3 separate regions of the Homo sapiens genome follow, and regions 2 and 3 are each linked to region 1. The links are contacts of gene promoters, found by promoter capture Hi-C in blood cells and fetal thymus (Javierre and others, 2016). All regions are on one chromosome and are shown on one strand. Each heading gives the region's core, a stretch centred on a gene start or on the middle of the fragment in contact. The rest is flanking DNA. Distances are from core to core; before and after follow the strand shown. Region 1 holds the start of CYRIA (CYFIP related Rac1 interactor A). Region 2 has its middle 42 kb from the start of LINC01804. Region 3 overlaps MYCNUT (MYCN upstream transcript).

The links. Contacts are between HindIII fragments. The CHiCAGO score rates a contact against its expected background, and 5 or more counts as called.
Region 2: a contact is called between a fragment that was not itself captured here and the fragment with the promoter of CYRIA in region 1, in 1 of 17 cell types (endothelial precursors). The highest score is 5.8, in endothelial precursors.
Region 3: a fragment that was not itself captured here is called in contact with the fragment with the promoter of CYRIA in region 1 in 2 of 17 cell types (fetal thymus and naive CD8 T cells); the score reaches 5.3 in fetal thymus.

Annotation. Positions count from the first base shown.
Region 1 is chr2:16,663,764-16,668,277 of GRCh38, forward strand. It overlaps CYRIA (CYFIP related Rac1 interactor A), which reads right to left and starts at 2,071. Exons shown (of 12, transcript NM_030797.4): 1 at 2,017-2,071. RefSeq lists silencers at 1,988-2,037, 2,108-2,277. The HindIII fragment of the contact is 7,241 bases long and covers 1-3,090 here.
Region 2 is chr2:15,730,938-15,735,451 of GRCh38, forward strand. No RefSeq gene overlaps it. Among named protein-coding and RNA genes, the nearest start is that of LINC01804, 42 kb to the left of the region's middle. RefSeq lists a silencer at 1,350-1,409. The HindIII fragment of the contact is 1,373 bases long and covers 2,001-3,373 here.
Region 3 is chr2:15,928,780-15,933,293 of GRCh38, forward strand. The region is part of intron 2 of MYCNUT (MYCN upstream transcript); the gene reads left to right. Among named protein-coding and RNA genes, the nearest start is that of MYCN, 9.5 kb to the right of the region's middle. The HindIII fragment of the contact is 667 bases long and covers 2,007-2,673 here.

The DNA.
Region 1 (4,514 bases), core at 821-3,320:
TCCTGGCAGCTCCCTCCACAGTAGTCCAGCAGGGACAGGAAAAGTGGAGACACCTTCTAAAGAGCCTCCTATAGTGTGGGTTTAGGCAGCTGGACTAAGGAAGTCCCTGTGATCCCTCGGACAGGACCAGGGAGCCCAACAGAGATGCGTGTATGTCAGCTTCATCACTTTTCCATTCATTGAACCAAAACTGAGGGCTGACTGTGTGCTCAAATCAATGTGACCTTAGGGAAATAACTCACTTGCTCTGAGCTTAGTTTCCTCATCTGCAAAGTGGAAAGAGCCCCTGCCCCATGGGGCTATTGTGAAGATGAAAGGAAATAACACCAGTGAGGTCCTTTGCCACATTTGGTATCTATTTTTAGCACTGAGGCAGTATGCGCCCACTATGTGCCCAAGCCCGTGATGCTGCTGCTGCCCCCTTCCCAGAGCCAGAGCCCAGAGGCAGGAGGGAATGTGGGCAGGTCTGTTTCCACCTCGCTTTCCCACTCTCCCCTCACAGGAACCCAGGGCCAGCAGGAGGTGAAGTTCTGCCAGCCCCCAGCCTGGGCCCAGCGCCCATGTTTATGACTGTTTATTTCAGAGCAAGTAGAAAGGAGAAATTAGAGCCATGAAAGACAGGACAACGGACCAATAAAAACCAGCTCCCAGAAGAGTCAGAAGGAGGAAGACAGGCAAAACTGTCACCATAGCAACACAAGACAGTCAGAAGCACGCAGGAAAAACAGCCCCTGCTCTGCCTCCTGTCTCCACTGCAAAGCAAGCCCTCGAACCCCAACCAGAGATCAGTGAAAGCCGACAATGATCCACCCAAAGAACTCTGGTACCCAAGCCCAGACCTGGCTAGCAGCCACTCTCCTCCTGCTGCCCCAGCACAAGTCCCAGCCTTCCAGGGTCCCAGATCAGCATTCTGTGCCCTGGGGACTCGACACTGTGCAGATGGCCCAGGTCCCATCCAGAGGAGATAGTGACTGGTGACAGAGAGGAAAGTTTCTAACAGGGAGAAAAGGAGGGTCACAGAGCTTCAGGGGAGATCAGGGCCCTAAACTCCAGCCCCATGACCCTGTCTTGGGTTCCCTGGGGAGCAGGCGGGTAAACAAGGGTGTGGGAGAGGACATCAGGCCCTGGACACAGAAAGATTGCTCCATCAGTTCTGGACCTGGCACCCCCAAAACAGTGGCTGGGGGAATTCTGGGGATGCGTGGGGAAATAGCTTTGGAGGCCTTAAATGACAAAGATCTTGGCCCTGGTCTCTGGGGACACTGGCTAGCGAGTAGGAGCAGCTTGGAGGAGGACCCAGGGACGGGCTGGCCCATTTTGACAGAGAATGTCTCCTGGCAGACAAGACAGGTGTCTCCACCAAAAAGCATGGCTGGCCTGGGACCAGCATTTTGGGAAGTGGGTCAAATTGTTCCCAAAGCTCAGTATTGGAAAAGTGCCTTTTGCCAAACTGGGGTTCTGGGTTCTGGGGGAGGAGAGAGGGTGACGGCAAGGTGTGCTGGGTCCTAGGCACAGCAGCTTTCTGGCTGGCTAAGAACGTCTGTGGCAGGTGGCAACAGAAGGGTCCAGGTGTGCAGGGGCTGGGGAGGGGGCCATCCCTCCCTTTGGGGCTGTAGAGAGTACCCAGGACCCCGGGGCCTCGGGTGGTGGGAAGGGGAGTGTTAGGGGTCCCCTGCAAGAATGGAGCTTATGATACCTGGGGTGGGGGGTAAGTGAGTGAGGGACGAGGGAGGGTGGTCTGGGAAAGGAACACAATCAGGAGGCAGCCCTCTCAGAAAGAGGGCAACGGGGCACAAAGCCGGACCTCTGTCCGGCGATCGCTAGAGAAGGGCTCCCGGACGGTGTCCTCCGCTCTCCCTCCCTCCCAAAGGCTGCAGGGGCGTCCGGGAGGAGAAGGATGGCAGGGAGGCGCCCGCCCCGCCTCGCGGTGCCCCGCGGTGCCCCGTGCAGGCCGAGCCCCGCGCCCGCAGACCCCCGCCCGCGCCCCTGCCGCGCCCCCAGCCGCGCCGCGCTCACCGAGTCGCCGCCGCCCTGCTCTGCCGCCCGCTCCGCCGCCGCCGAGTACGCCTCTCCCGCGGCCGCCGCAGCCTGCGAGACGGCCTCGGAGCCCCGCCCCGCCCCTCCCCGTCCCTCCCCGCCCCGCCCCGCCCCCAGCCCGGCTCGCGGCAGCCGCCCCGCCCCGGCCCCGGGGGATCCCCACCCGCGCTGTCACCGGCCGCGTCCTCACCCTAGCCTGGACAACCCCATCTCTTTGCCCGGCTCTGCTCTCTGCTCCCAGGAGCTGGTGCGGACCCGCCCCAGCACGGTCGCCCCTGCCCCTTCTCAGCCTTGGCCACTTGGCCTTGCCTTCCCAGAGGAAGCCCGAACCAGACCTTTCTGTTTCTGCACACCAAATTCCTCCACACCCACGGTTGCCCTCCAAGAAAAAGAAATCCCCGCAATCTCTAGACGCATATTCACCTTCAAATTAATGCCCAGCCAAATCATCCCAATCCCTAGGCACACTCCAAATTACTTGAGATTCTGAACCCAGTCTCGCTCCCAGTCCCTTTCTGCCCACCCTATTAACAGATCTCCAGCCTTGGGGCCCGCAGTTATCCGATAGGACCACTGTAAAGTCTTCCCAAAGGCTCAATCCAAAACATGTAATTAACCTTAAAGAGTAAGTCTGCAAAAACACTTAAAAAATTCTATGATGCAAAAAGAAAGTAGTGGGTTACAGCGTCATTGACGTGATCATTGTTCTAAAACATCTGCCATGGAGGCTTTTTGCATTAGAGAGAGGGAGATTCAGGAAACCGGAGAGGACTCAGCAGTGCCAAACAGGTTGTGAGTCAGAGCTCCTGTTGAGGGGAGGGAGAGCTCCTGGGGACCCCGGCTTCGGGTGCTTCCTTTCCCAGTCCATCAGCCAGAACATCATGAAACATGTGTTAAATCCCCATAGTGTGCCAAGGTACGTGCCCGAAGCTGCATGGGTTGGGGCCCTGTGTGGGCTGGGATCAGAGGAGGCGGGAAGCATCAGGAGAAGGTGTTCAGGCCCCTCTCCTTTCTGAGATCCAGGGTGTTTCCCCTGGGAGGACTTGTTGCCCAAGCTTCCTTTGCACTCTGAAAGGCTCTCCTGAACTGCCCACAGAGGCTCTTGGTCTGTTTTTTGGCAAAAATTCACAGAGGGCAGGAAGGCACTGTCTAGTTAGAGTGAAATATTTTCCCACTTGGAAGGGGTCCTTAGGACCAGAAGAAACACTTTCCCGTTCTCTTTTTGAGTTTTCCCCATGCCCTAGACCAGCCTCTGTTGTCAATTCCTGCAAAGGTGTTTTTTTTGTTTTTGTTTTTTGAGACAGAGTCTCACTCTGTAGCTCAGGCTGGAGTGGAGTGGTGTGATCTCGGCTCACTGCAACCTCCATCCCCCGGGGTTCAAGCAATTCTCCTGCCTCAGCCTCCAGAGTAGCTGGGACTACAGGCGCCTGCCACCACATCCGGCTAATTTTTGTATTTTTAGTAGAGACGGGGTTTCACCATCTTGGTCAGGCTAGTCTTGAACTCTTGACCTCGTGATCCACCCACTTTGGCCTCCCAAAGTGCTGGGATTACAAGCGTGAACCACCGCAGCCGTCTGGCAAAGGTGTTTTATCTGTGAGTGGCTCTATGAGAAAAGCCTTCTTGCCATGAGGTAAACCATGTCTACTACACACACACACACACACACACACACACACACACACACATACACACACCCCTAAAATTTTCTGGCTTAATCTGTCCACCTTGAGTTTGGCCAGGTTTTGGGAAGAGTGAGGACTAATCAGCCACAAACACCATTCATCCCCATAAAACACTATCATTTCAGACCATGAGAGGACTTTTCACTTTACACCCATCTGTCTCTACTAATACAGCTCAAGTTTGTGAGTAGACTATTTGATGCATGAGATTTCACTTCCACACACTTAGAGATGGCTTCTGTTTCAATAATCGAGGGATACCTGCATGGTATTGCCCAGCCCATTATGAAATAATAGGGTTTTCTAATGATCAGTGTGGAATTTAATAATTGAATGTTTCCTAAGACAAAATTACCAGATGAAAGTCTTTTAACTTTATCAGTAATACTAATAACAAGTTTAAAGGTTATTATCATAAAGATTATAGTGAAATTAAACTGCCATTTAGGAGGCAGGTAAGTTGAGACTGAATTTCAGATGGTTGTCACTCACAATATGTGTGCTAAGATGAACCTTAATATCTTAATTAAAGTAAATGTATACTGAGCTGTGCTAGTTTCAAGGACATCTTTTTCATGTATTTCTTTTTTAAAAGAGATTGATGAAGCATGGACAAAGTGCCAGGCACTGTGCTAAGTAATGGAATAAGGACACAGTTCCCTGGTCTTGAGGAGGACACAGGCAGGCTGCCTGTGGAAAAAGACTAACAGAGATATTTGCTGTGTGGACCCAGGAAAAGAAAGAATTCTTTGTGATTGGGGGAAACTGAGAGCAGATTCTTGAAAAGCGCAT
Region 2 (4,514 bases), core at 1,437-3,936, 930 kb before region 1:
CAGTATTATTCACATCATCTGTATTTAGTGGCACCTCCTTGGTGCCAAGGTGTGAGCCATGGCCCCGGGTAGCACAGCCTCCTGCTTCCCAGCTGCTGGAGGGATTGCCCTGATCCCATGCTTCTCCAAGGTGGTCTGGGGGAAGCAACCCAGCAGCAACTGTAGGAGCTGCCCAACTCTCCCACTGCCTCAAGGGCTGAAGGGATTAATTTCATGGCATACGTGTGTCCCCCTAGATAAGCTCTGCTGCAAAACACAAAAGTGGCCATGTTCTCTCCCAGCACTTGAGCTTGCCTTGAGACTGAAATCCAAGTGATGCCCCTCAGGCTATCACCTCTGGTGGATGCCCCTCCAGCCTGTCTTACCCATGTCCTTCTTGGGCCATCAGCCTTCTGTTACCTGCTGGGATTGTTCCCAGTCTGGGACACCATACCCCAGTTCCTCACCTGCCTGACTCCTGTGGGCCCTTGGAGTTAGCACAGGTTTCACCTCTTCCAAGAACCTTTCATCTTGTCAGAGCATTGGCCAGGCAGCCCCGGGATCCCTGGTTGACTCTTCTGGGTTCCCTGAGGACAGGGCTGTTCCTCATCTCTGGAGTGCCAGCCCCTGCAAAGCAGTTGGATAGAAACGCAATCGTTATTGGTGACAATTTCTCACAGTTCTACAGCTCCTTACGGTTTATAATGCATTTCACACTTATTCTTGCATTTGAGTTTTGCAGAATTTTATGTGTGTTCCTTTCTCTGTCGTCACTGAGTGCTCACTCTAGGCAGCCCTCTGCTAGGCGCAAGTGGCAGGATGGAGGAGCGTGCCAAGGACTAGGAGATTACATGGAGAAGCTAACATTAGCCTTAGTGCTTCTTTGCCATTTGGGGAAGCAGATTTTGGAAGCTGTCACTTCCAAGGTGGAGTTCTGGGAAGTGTTTGGGCTTCCCCTTAGCAGGTGCTCCCTAAATTCTAGGCACTCCCCTCCAGCACTAGAGCTTTGTATTCTGACCCCTGACCCTCACAGCCCTTTGCCTTTGATCAATGTATTTTCTCAGACTGGAACCTCCTTCCTCTGCTTTTCCCTGTTTATCAACCTAGTTTAGTTGCCCCTTGCTTCAGACAACCTTCCCTGTCTCTTTCCCTGCAGCCCCCGGAGTACTGTAAGGCCCTCCACCAACAGACACCTTTCACTTTATTGTCCTGAATCACAGGTTTAAGCTTAAGCTGGGTTCCCTCCATTAGATCTCTGGAGATCCAGAATTAGGGTCAGATTTATTTCTGTTTCCCTGCACAATATCTGTTACATAGCAGGTATTGTGTTGGAGAGGGAATGAATGGATGGATGAATGAATGAAGAAACTGAATTGAGTCCATCTCAGCTTCTCCAACAAGGACAGAAAAGAAACAGCTCAGGAGACGTAATCTTATAACATGGGGTTTCTCTGTAATTTGCATAAATAACCCACTCTACTAGGTTTCACGCCTCTTGGGAGACCTACCAGCTGCCTGCCTCTCACTTCCAGTTTCCAAAGAGGAAGGAAGGTTTCTACCAGCCCAGCTCAGCTGGTCCAGGGACTAAATTACCTTCCCATCACTGAGCCCCTTTCTCATTATGCCAGAGGAAGATCACTACTGCCTGTCCATTTGGGCGGCTTATCCACGTGGCCTGGTTCCAGGAGCCATCTGTGTGATGTCATTCCCAATACGATTTGAAACTTCCAGCATCTGCAGCCCCCACTGGTGTTGAATCATAGTGAGACTGGCATTATCATCACCTCCACTTTACAGATGGGAACTTATCATGGTGAGGGTTCTAGAGATGGGGTGGGGCCGGGCCCTGTGTCTCCAAACGAGCCCAGTGTATCTCTTGAGGCTGGCCTCTCCCTCTCCCTGGTACAAGCCAGGGCTTCAAAATCCAAAAGATCTTTCTTCATCTTTTCCAACCCACTATGACCCAAATATGCATCTTCCTTTAAGGAATGTCTTAGATTTAAAAAAATTAAAAACTCAAAAGCTTCTGAGGCATCTTACCTGAGCTTATCAACATCTTTCCCCCATTCCTTCTGATATAACTACTTGGGCTGACTTGAAGCCTCACTTAGGTGCAGCTGCAATGGTGTGAGGTTTTTGTTGTTGTTATTGTTTTTGAGATGGCGTCTGGCTCAGTCATCCAGGCTGGAGTGCGATCTTGGCTCACCGCAACCTCCGCCTCCTGGGTTCAAGCAATTCTCCTGCCTCAGCCTCCCGAGTAGCTGGGACTACAGGCATGTGCCACCACGCCCGGCTAATTTTTTTGTGTTTTTAGTAGAGATGGGGTTTCACCATATTAGCCAGGGTGGTCTCAAGCTCCTGACCTTGTGATCTGCCCGCCTTGGCCTCCCAAAATGCTGGGATTACAGGCATGAGCCACCGCGCCCGGCCGGTGTGCGGTTTTATTTGAATGGAGCTCCCGTTTGAAATAAAAGCTCTATGATCTAACCTCTCCTGGGCCTCCTGCCTTGCATCCCTAGGGGAAGTTTTGGGGCATAAAAGTCCAATTTCTTTTCGTATTGGACGCTTGGATGAGAGAAAGAGAAACGAAATCCTGGCACTGAAAAAAGCAGAGACAACCAAACCCAATTATTCCTACTAACTGGGAAGGAATTCCATTTGAGTTAGTGGTTCCCAAACTTGTCTGATGATAAAACTTGCTCGATTGGAACCTTTATGTCTGGACTCTGAAAAACCTACATTTTAAAAATTAGAGATTCCCTCCCCAAATTTTATCAACAGGGAAGACAGGGAGGAAAAAAGTTTGAGCTATAGACTTAATTCATAACACCTTCTTCTTAGACTTGAGAGATTCTTTAGGCATCTATCGTAATGATTTGATAAGACCGAAATGGAAGGAGTCCAGTTAAAGCAAGAAAAAACATCAAACATGCTGAAGATTCTCCACCCTTCATTTTAACATAATTTATTATTTTACAAACACTTTCATAGCACTTACTATGAGTCAGACTTCATGCTCTGCAAATATTTGCTTATTTAATCTTCAGAGAGGCTTGCAGAGGTCCGATGGGGTTAAGTCACTTGTCCAAGGTCACATAGTTATGAGTGGGGGAGCCGGGGCCCAGACTCAGGCCGTCTGGCACCAGATTGGTTGATATAAACCACGCAGCTATATGTGTTTTAAAAAACCTCTTTTCACTTGGCCACAGAACAAACCCTGTCTTCATAATCATTGTGAAGTAAATGATTGAAGAGCCTTGTCTGAGTGATTTCAAATATTTTGCTGGCGGGGTCCAAATTAGCGATCCTGTTATTGTACATGGAGCGTGGTCTGACTTTCTCTTTTGAGGGCAAAACATGCCTATTGTTATGGCAATCCCAAATGCTGCATAGAAGCTTTAAAGAACAGATTCTAATCCCTTTGTTTCTCACTCCAAATGTTGAAACAAACCTCAGAGCTCTGCTGATTCCTGACAGATTTGAGTCTCTCTGCGTTTCAAATATTTCAAACCAGCTTGGGAAGCAAACACATGATATTCTTCTTTCTCTTGCATGGTTTATTTTTAAAGCATGCATCTGGCTGCTTTTTCATTTCCCAGAAGGTGGAGGGAAATTACTCTACAGCAATGGCTGGGTGTTGGATCGCAGCTTCTCCCCACAAGCAGGAGGCGACAACTCCGTCCAGGTCCCAAGCATGACCTTAGCCTGTTTCCAGTCTGAGCCCTTGGTGAAGAAACCTCTGACCAGCAAGAAGCTGGGCTTCTTGCACATGGCTGGGAAAGAAGTTGCTGGTGGCTTTTACATGTTTATCATCCCTGAGGAGCAGTCTAGTTACTCTCTGATCATTCCCCATCAGCTCAGAGAGCCCCTTTCTGGCTCAGAAAGCTCATTGTCACAGTGCCACAAGCATTACTGAGCATTTGCCATGTGTCAGACCCTGGGCTAGACATGACTACACAACTCTACAGACCAGGCATTATTAGCCCCCGTTTTTCAAAATTGAAGACTGGGGATCAGGGGATGTAAGTATTCTACATGCCTGAGGCTCTGCAGTGCGTGAGAGCAGAAAGGAAGGCGACTGGAGACCAGGCTTGACACCTCTGCTCCCTCCACCACTCCAAGTAGTGAGCAGGCATTCTTATCTAGCATTCTTAATATAGCACCCTGGGTAGTCTCTGCAGGAGCAAATGAGCAGCAAATGTGTTCAGGGCAGCTGGGAAAGACTATTTGTAGTCTGAGAACTTGTGGCTTGATTATATGTGTTGCTTCACAATTTTCTTGGAGGAGCCTAAATCCTGCAAGGAAGTGCAAGGTGTGAAATTCAAATAGCCTTTTGGGATTCCAAATACACTTTCACTAATAGCCTTCATCAAAGAAGAGCATGTGACTCCAAACAGGTGGTTGATGTTAACCCAGTAGCATCCTGCGGTTGCTAGTTATTTTCCCCAAGGAGCTGTAGCTGAAACTTTCGTGTACAGCAAATGGCAAGAGAGCTGTGGCTTGAGATATGGCTTTCATCAGGCCCCTTTTCTCCA
Region 3 (4,514 bases), core at 1,090-3,589, 730 kb before region 1:
GGACATCCTCTCCATTCTCCCCAGCCCCTCTACTAGCATGGATGGTGAGAAATGAGTCTCAGATGGAGGCATCTGAAGCAGATTCTGCAGAAAAGGTGACTCATGCCAGGGATCTCACCTTCCCGAGGCCCTAGGAGCCCCGCTTAGTTCATCTGTGCTTCTGGAGGAACCCCGGACCCTGGAGCTGCAGAGGTGCTCTTTTGAGGATACTGGAGCTGGTGGCTTCTTCCAGCCCTCTTCTCAGGAGAGCTGCATATTCTTGCTCTTGTGAACATTTCATTCCTTCATGGAGAAACCAAACACTCCAATCCCCAAAGGAAAATAGAGATAACTGCTGATTTCCACAGGTGGAAGAGACAAAAGCCAGAACTTTCTCCTGGTTTCATGAGAAAGTGCTGGGGTTTTATTGTTTGTGTGATCTGATTGATCTGAATGTGTGGCTTTCAGTCTGGTTTTGAAACCCTTCAAGATCCCCAGAGAGGCTGGGCGCAGTGGCTCACATCTGTAATCCCAGCACTTTGGGAGGCCGAGGCAGATGGATCACTTGAGGTTAGGAGTTCAAGATCAGCCTGGCCAACATGGTGAAATCCCATCTCTACTAAAAATACAAAATTAGCCGGGCATGGTGGCAGGTGCTTGTAATCCCAGCTACTCGGGAGGCTGAGGCAGAAGAATCGCTTGAACCTAGGAGGCGGAGGTTGCAGTGAGCTGAGATGGTGCCACTTGCACTATAGCCTGGGCAACAGAACAAGACTCCGTCTCAAAAAAATTTTAAAAAAATAAAAAATTGACCTTAGTGTAAAAGATATTTAGTTAGCATTTTTTAAATAAAAAGTTTTGTAGCTGCAAGCAAGTTTGAAAACTACAAGTCTGCTGTCTCAGTTTTCTATGGATTGCTGGTCCTGACATTCTCTTTATATATATATATATATATATATATATATATAAAATAGTAGCTGAGATTACAGGCACCCACCACCAAGCCCCACTAGTTTTTGTATTTTTAGTAGAGATGGGGTTTCACCACGTTTGTTAGGCTGGTCTCGAACTCCTGACCTCAAGTGATCCACTTGTCTCAGCCTCCCAAAGTGCTGGGATTACAGGCATGAGCCACGGCACCCAGCCCTGACATTCTCCTTATGTACATAGAGACATAAGCCTTGTTTTGGGAGAACAGAGAGAAATCTGTCCATTCATTCCACAAAATATTTTTTGAGCACCTCCTTTGTGACAGGTACAACTATGCATCATGAAAAATAAAAAGGCCTAGTAATGGCTGCCATTGCCTTTGAGGAGATTGTGCTTGGGGGCACAGGTGACTCCATGGCAGCCAGTTCAGAGGAAGCATTTCGAAGTGAAGTCTAAGCTTCTATCCTTGAACGACTTCATTCCGATCAGCTGTAGCTACAGACACCATTCTCTTCAAGACTTCTCTCTCTCGTTTTTTATTTAAACCTATGTGTATTTTAATATAGAAAACTTTTTTCATGAAACAACTTGCAGGACTAATTTAGGATTAATTAGAATATCTTCAACAGGCTGGGAGCAGTGGCTCACACCTGTAATCCCAGCACTTTGGGAGGCCCAGACCAGAGGATCATTTAAGGTCAGGAGTGTGAGACTAGCCTGGCCAGCCTAGTGAAATGCCATATTTACTAAAAATACAAAAAAAAAAAAAAAATTAGCTGGGTGTGGTGGTGCATGCCTGTAATCCCAGCTACTCAGGAGGCTGAGGCACAAGAATCACTTGAACAGGGGAGATGGAGGTTGCCGTGAGCCAAGATTGTGCCACTGCACTCCAGCCTGGGTGACAGAGAAAGACTCCATCTCAAAAAAAAAAAAAAAAAAAGGAATATCTTCAACAGTTTGCTCTAAATCATAATTATAATAAAAATCCATTAAATTTGCACTATTAAGACTTAGTATTTAAAAGGTTATTTAACAAATAACAAAAATAAGACCCTGCTTTTTTCTCTAGACTTACTTTCAGCACCTCCAGTTTATGAAGCTTTCTTACCCCATGCTCTTGGTCTTTTCCCTCCAAACAAACCATTCTATCCAACTGGGGCCACCTTGATCCATTGGGGGGTTTTAGCATAGAGTGTAACAGCTGCATGCTTGATTTGGTTTGTTCCTTCTGGCTGTTTTCCCTCTTTCACGAGGGGCTGCTCTTTTAACAAGAAGGCTGTAACGTGTAACAAGAGCAAAAACTAAGGCTTTGTTGCATTAAGCCGCTGTGATTTGAGGGTTGTTTGTTACTACAGCATACTCTCACCCATCCTGACTAATACAATCCTATCCGCCCTTGTGTCCCGGGCAAACTGTTTCTCATCCTGTAGCTCAAATGTCCCTCCCAGTCTGTGAAACCATGTTCCACTCCCCCAGGGAGGGGTGGAGTCTCTTTCCTCTGGGCCATCCTTAATTGTAGCACACAATAAGTTTCATTGGATTTTTCTGTGTGGCTTATAAGTGCCTTGCAAGCAGAAGTTATAGTTATATATAGTCATATACAAGTGTTTGTTGATGGACTAAATGAATGCTTGTATTTAGAAATTGCTTCCTAAAGCCTACTGTTCAGAGCTCATTTCTGAGCTGCAAAGACACAGTCTGTCACTGTAAAAGTGACATGGTGCAATCAGCAGCATCTGCCCAACAACTCGAGCTAGGTATGCAAGCTTGAAATCAAGACAGTTAGGAGAGAGAGTCCATAAGGTTTCTTTCAGACTCCAATAGTCAGTGCCCTGTGAACATAGCTGGACCAGAAAGAGACCTTCCTTGGCCAGTGTCAGGGAAAACAACACAGTCCTCCACATTGAAACAATTTGTTAGCATTTACAAGTTCACATTTTTCTGTATTTTAACTTCTAATTGGTTTCCTCTTTTGTGCTAAGAATGCCATCTGTCCCTTTGACAGGTTTTTGGATTTGATGCCACTTACCAGGAAATATGACCATTATAAGCATTGTAAGAGGATTCAAACGTGTCCATCCCAAACAGCCTTGTTTTAGGAACTCCATACATGATCCCACACTGTTCATGTGTAGAGGTTTTACCATTTTTCAAGCTCCTGCCCCACAGAATAAAGCCTTTTTCCTCTACAATTTCTTAGAGCTTATAATATACAGCAAGGTAACATACATGGCCCCACTTTGATTGTAGATTTCCTATCTTCTCTGTGGCAGTAAGAATATTATTATCCCTATTCGTAGGTAAGAAAACTGAGGCTGTTGGAAATGGACATGCCCAAGATCATATAGAAATAATAGAACCAGGTTATCAAACTTCATTTCTGAATCTAAGCCCACTGCCCTACAGATATCTTTCCCTTATGGAATAAAAGCAGGGATAGGGCTCATTATTCCGATATTATGAACCAGGAGAAGTTAATGGACCGATCTAAAATTCCTCAAGAAGTAAGACACAATTCTAAGCTTGAAGAACTCCAGTCCTCTCCCCGGGTGACCCTGTGTTCTTACTAGGACTACCTTATACTACCTTGACTCTGCAGTACCTTCTTTCAAGCCTAAAGTTACTTGATTACGGACAAGCCATGAAGAGTAAAGGGGTGTGGCCCAGAGAGATTTCCAGTTGAAGAAAGAATGATTCAACAGTCCCATTAAAACAAAGAGACATTTTCTGCAGGCTCCCCCAGGACACACATGCTATGGTCTATTGCTGCGGGGTACATGGAGCCCCTGCAGGAGGGCTGGGACTAGAAGGAAGGGAGGGAACGTTTACTGGACATCCATTATAAGCCAGATGGCTACTTTGTGTAATCCTCACATGATACTAAAAGAAAGATGAAAAAATGGCCGGGTGTGGTGGCTCATGCCTGTCATCTCAGCACTTTGGGAGGCCGAGGCGGATGGATCACTTGAGGCCAGGAGTTTGAGACCAGCCAAGCCAACATGGTGAAGCCCCTTTTCTACTAAAAATACAAAAAAAAAAATTAGCTGGGCACGGTGGCTCGAGCCTGTAATCCCAGCTACTTACGATGCTAAGGCACAAGAATCGCTTGAACCCGGTAGGCGGGGGTTGCAGTGAGCCGAGATGGTGCCACTGCACTCCAGCCTGGGCAACAGAGTGAGATTCTCTCAAAAAAAAGAAAAAAAAGAAAGAAAGAAAGAAAGATGGAGAAATAAAGCCTCAGAAAAGTTGGACTATCCAACATAGCAGAACTCGCTGTCATGTCTGGTGTCAGAGCTGTTCTTTCCAGCATTCGCTGCACCAGATGCTGTAGAAGATGGAAAGGCAACATGGGAAAGGGTGCTGCACTCAGGAACTGCTCATCCTGTTAGGGGAGTCGCACACACACACAGGAATCTGATAAAGAACCCCCATGGCCGGGCACGGTGGCTCACGCCTGTAATCCCAGCTCTTTGAGAGGCCGAGGCGTGAGGTCGCCTGAGGTCAGGAGTTCGAGACAAGCCTGTCCAACATGGAGAAAGCTAAAAATACAAAAATTAGCCGGGCGTGGTGGCACACACCTGTAATCCCAGCTACTCAGGAGGCTG